Linked DNA regions of Homo sapiens: region 2 is linked to region 1. The links are contacts of gene promoters, found by promoter capture Hi-C in human tissues and cell types (Jung and others, 2019). All regions are on one chromosome and are shown on one strand. Each heading gives the region's core, a stretch centred on a gene start or on the middle of the fragment in contact. The rest is flanking DNA. Distances are from core to core; before and after follow the strand shown.

Region 1 (2,625 bases), core at 60-2,559:
ATATGCATATATAAATGATATATGAATATATGTGTATATGTGTGTGACTATGTAGAAACACACGTACACATATACACTGGTATCAGGTAAAATGCTGTTTTTAGATGCTGGAGAACTAACACATACAAGAGAAAAAAAACAGGTCATGATAAAGTCATCCTATTTACTCGAACTGCTCGCGTATAAGTATTATGCAGTACAAAGAATATTATGCTCATTTTTCTATGTGCCAGGTTGTCTTTTCTTTTTTTAATTTTTTTGACACGCAGTCTCGCTTTGTCACACAGGCTGGAGTGCAGTGGTGCCATCTCAGCTCACTGCAACCTCTCCCTCCCGGGTTCAAGCGATTCTCTTGCCTCAGCTTCCCGAGCAGCTGGTATTACAGACACCTGCCACCACGCCTGGATAATTTTTGTATTTTTAGTAGAGACGAGGTTTCACCATGTCGTCCAGGCTGGTCTCGAACTCCTGACCTCAGGTGATCCGCCTGCGTTGGCCTCCCAAAGTGCTAGGATTACAGGCGTGAGCCACCGCGCCCGGCCCAGATTGTTTGTTTTATTTGATTACACAATGAATTCTCTTCTTGAAGTTTGCCTTTCTTCTCTTTTTCCTGTCCCTTTCTTTTTACTGTATCAATAGTTGTCTGACCCAAACCTCAACAAGTAGAAGGAATTTTGGACTGAAATGTTTCCGTTCACTAAGTCTCAATTGCGTTCTTGGAAAGGTGCTGGCACAGCTGAGGGACACCCCAGCTGTTAGTTGAGTTTGTGAATTGCAGATCCTGCCCCAGAGTCAGTGAAATTTCTTTTTCCCTTATACTATCTCAACTTTACGCAGCCAACCCTGTGTACCCAATAATAGCTCAATTTAGTGGCATCCGCTAAAGTCTTGTATAGAGAAGTTTTCCCTCTGGATTTCCCCTTTACTGAAGAAAAATGGGGAGACCCAGACAAGGGTCCCGGGACTACGCTTCCCAGCCGCCTCCGCCCGGCGCCCAGTCCAACTTCCCTTACAGGGATGGCCCCTGGCATCTTGGCCCCGCCCATCCCCAGCACCATATTGCGAACTACAATTCCCAGCTGCCTCCATGCGTCGGACCCTTCAAAATGGGCTTCCCAGCAGCCTCTCGGGCGAAGAGCCCCGCCCTTCGGAGCTGCTCCCCAGGTCGACCCGGCGCACTCTTCCTGCCCCCTGCCCCGTCACGTGATGCAGTCCCGCCAACCGGCACGGGGAGGCGGGCAGCGGGCGGTGGCCGGGGGCGGGCAGGCCGTGGGGGGCGGACCCCAGAGGGGGCGGAGCAGGGCCCGGCAGCCGAGCAGCCTGGCAACGGCGGTGGCGCCCGGAGCCCGAGGTGGGTGCGCGCTCACGGCTGGCCTGGCTCGGAGCCGGGCACTGCGGGGACCCGTGGTGAGGGGATCGGGAGGAGGAAGTTGGGACTCCTTGGGCCAGCGGGTCGCGCGGGGCCTTGCCGCACCGTCAGGGTTGGGTGGGGGTTTCGTCCAAGCGCCGTCGCTGTCCCCGCGGGGCAGGGCTGAGGCCAGGGAGCAGCAGGCAGGTACCTCCGGCTTCCTCCCGTTCTCCCCGCCCAAGGTGGCCGGCCGGCGGCGGGCGAAGGTCGGGACGGGGGTAGGGGTTGGCTGGCCGTGGAGCTGGGGGCGGACGTCTCAGCCACTGCCTGGACTTTGCTTCCCCGTCCCGGGGCGGTGAGTGGGCCGGGCGTCCGCCCTGCCTCCCCGGCGACGCTCCGCGGCTGGTCCTCGCCTTGGCCCTCCGCACGGAGCGGGCGTCCGTCGCATCCCCGGTGGGCCCTGCGGAGCGGCCGCAGCCCGGCACTGGCCGCGAAGCCTCGATGGCCGCTCTCGGCCAGTGTTTCTGTGTCATACACGAGAGGTTTATCTGCTTTTGCAACAGTTGAGGGAAGATCTTAGAGGGAACGGTTAGTTCCCTGATACGCAGTCGGAAGTATGTACAGGCACGAGCAAGCGCCCGTGGCCGGGTTGCCTCCCTTAACTGTCTTTTGCTGCGCTCAGGAAGTGAAAACTAATTTTAGTATTTGCCTAAGCAAGTAAGAAGTGAATCTGCTGCAAAAATTATATTAGAGCTTTATAGACGCACGCATCGTTTGAGGCGAAGTGGGTTGCGACTGGTTTTGAAACAGATACACCAGATCTTCACAAGAATAAAATTATAGCATTTTAGAATTGACTGGCATCCTGAAGTTTACATTGTTCATTTGTTTCCTGGATGGGGGAACTGAGGCCCAGAGAGGGTAACTAATATGTCCCGGGCTTCAGGGCAACTTAATGGCAAAGCTAATATCACAAGCCAGCTCTTTGGGGGTATCTTGGTGTCTGTCTAGTCTGGATTCTTTTTACCACAGCTCAGTATTATTCCTTGTGAAATAAGCACCTTAGAGTCTTGAGACTGAGCCAGCAATTTTGCTAGACTGCAAACCATTTTGAATTTCCTTCAAAATCGGTTTACCAACCAAATAAGACAATCAGGCCTGTTACTTTGCAGACACGTTTGCCTTCATCCAACATATATATTGGGCACGATCATGTATTCACCAGATTTGATTCTGAATGGCTTTTGGCTGCTTCACAAAATCAAATCTACTTTTCA
Region 2 (2,625 bases), core at 61-2,560, 470 kb before region 1:
CATGCAGAGACCACTCCATTTGTCATGGGACCATAGCCAATTTAGGCAAATCTGTTAACCTTTCCTTGTAATTCCCAGGAGCACTGAGGAATTGTTCGGGGATGATATCCTTGGATGCACTTCAGACTTCATGGATTTTATGTTCTCTCTGATATTTCTTGTATCAGGGAGCTGAGAGGAATTGGTCTCTGAACTGATATTAATTTCTTTGTTTATTTCAAGTCCAGACAAAGAAGAGCACTGATTGGCCCTGTCCTCACAAAGCTGCAGAAGGTATTTGGCACAACCTCAAATCTGGGAGGGGCCTACCAGTTCCAAAATCCTATGTCCAGTTCAGGAATCCCCTTTCAAGAATTAATTTTGTGTTTAAATATCTCTAGGAACATGCTGCTCACTTCTTCCTAAGGCACCTGTGCCAGTTTCAGACAGTGCCAATCATTTGGAAAGTTTTCCTTCTTCTGAGCTGAAATTTATCTCCCCAAAATGTCTAACCCACATAGTCCTGGATCTGTCCTCTGTATGCACTTTCCAAATACGGCTACCATGGACCCCTCATCTTCTTGTCTCAGGGCTTATCATTAATTCGTCTTATGTCGTGATTCCAAGACCCTTCACCATCCTGTTCTCCCTCTGTTTTTTACCAGTTTCTTCCCATATATCTCATTCTGTAACCCATCTGGAATAAATTAGATTGTTCAGGGAGAGGTAAAGATTTAAGTGAATCTCCCTTCAGGTTAACATCCATACTCCCCCAGAGTACTTGCTAAATAAGCTTTCATTTCCCTGTGGTTTTCTTTTACCAGGTTTGGTTCTATTTCTAAAATAGATTTCACACGTAGCTTTACCTTTCCTTTTTAACCCCAGATTCTGTATCTTTTTTTTTTTTTGTGGATGCTGTAACAAAGTACCACAAACTTAGTGGCTTAAAGCAACACACATTTATCATCTTTCAATTCTGGAGGTCAGAAGTCTAAAATGGGTCTCACGAGGCTAAAGTCAAAGTGTTGGCAGGGATGCAGTCCTTCTGGAGTCTCTAAGAGAGAGCCCATTTCTTTGCTTTTTCTGGCTTCTAGAGGCTGCCCCCATTCCTTGGTTTGTGGCCCCTTCCTCCATCTTCAAGGCAAGTATCATAGCATCTTCAGATTTCAATTACCCCCACGCTTGCTGACTCTCTCTGACTCTGCTTCCATCATGACATCACCTACTCTTACTCTGACCCTCCCTTATGCCTCCTGCTTTTACTTATAAGAACCCTGAATCCAGGGTTACATTGGACCCACCTGGATAATCCAGAATGATCTCATTCCAACGTATAAATCCAAAATATAAATCTGCCAAGTCCCTTTTTCCTTGTAAGGTCACATATTCACAGGTTCCAAGGATTAGGACGTGGACATCTTTGGGAGGGACTGTTATTCTGCCTACCTCAGATTCCTTCTGCCTGCAAGGCCATTAGCCAAACAAACTTACCTGACTACTGATAGATTCAGCTGGGGGTTCCACTCCCATGTGCCCACCTAGGCCCTGGCTTCCCTGAAAGAGGGGTATTGCATTTTTTCGGAGAAAGTGGTGAAGCGAAAGCCACTTTGGGGCACAGATTCAGTCCTTTATGTGGAATTTGAAGCATCTCATTCCTGGAAACTCTTCATTCAGGTCTAACATGAGCCTGGCATGGGTAAGAGTTCAGTGAATGAATGACTGGCTGACTAGATAAATGAGTGACCTTCTTCCGTGTCTAGCCCCACCATCATATTTGTATAATCTTTCCACAGTTAGTTAGTGTGTCTTGGTTCTCTCTTCAGAAATGGTTGATGGTGCCCCTGCATGTGCAGATGTAATCCCAGACTCTTCAGCCCAGCCTAGTCAAGCACTCCCCCATCTGACCCTAGCTTGCTGGTCCAGCTTCACCTCTTACTGCACTCATCCACGTGCTCTGCCCTCTAGCCTCACTGGCCTGAGCCGGAATAGTAGCAACAAGCATGTGCAGAGTGCTTGCCCAGTTCCAGGCCATGTTCTGAGGGCTTTATGTACATTAACTCACTTAACCCTTGCCACAACCCTATAGGCAGGTACTCATGACTTTCATGGGAGTCTAGAAGAGGTTCCATGACCCACTGAAGTTTAAGAACCTCTGATCTAGAGAATTTCCTCTAGGTGGAAAGTGGGTGGAGCCTGGTTGAGTGTCAGCTCCCCTATCTCCTGTGGGGCCTGCACTGAGCCAGCACAGGGCATGGGGCTCTGAGACCTAAAGACCCAACAGTTATGGGGCTCCTTAGCGGGGTACCAGAGACACTGATCTGGGACGAGCCCACACTGCAGTGCAGGATGACCTATTGCTACCCTGACTATGGAGACTAGGGGAAAGGACAGCAGGGGTGGGGGAAGGGTGTGTGGTGAGGGCAGGAGATAGTCAAGGCATAGTTGATGAGGTCAGGGCAGTAAGACAAAGGCACAGAGGATATAGGACAGAGTAACAGAGAACATTTTGAGAGGTGGTCTATTACAATTGTTAAAATCATAGACTCCGAAGCCAAACTGCCAAAGTTGGAATCCTGGCTCTGCTCACTGCTTATTAGCCATGGACCCAAGTAGGTTACTGTACTGCTCCAATCCTGTTTTCTTATT

The links. Contacts are between HindIII fragments. The study calls those that stand out against the background at their distance.
Region 2: a fragment that was not itself captured here is called in contact with the fragment with the promoter of MTM1 in region 1 in 1 of the 25 tissues and cell types used here (adrenal gland).

The regions. Positions count from the first base shown.
Region 1 is chrX:150,567,312-150,569,936 of GRCh38, forward strand. It overlaps MTM1 (myotubularin 1), which reads left to right and starts at 1,310. Exons shown (of 15, transcript NM_000252.3): 1 at 1,310-1,351. RefSeq lists a silencer at 1,112-1,791. The HindIII fragment of the contact is 11,680 bases long and covers 1-2,625 here.
Region 2 is chrX:150,096,028-150,098,652 of GRCh38, forward strand. No RefSeq gene overlaps it. Among named protein-coding and RNA genes, the nearest start is that of MIR2114, 130 kb to the right of the region's middle. The HindIII fragment of the contact is 6,940 bases long and covers 1-2,625 here.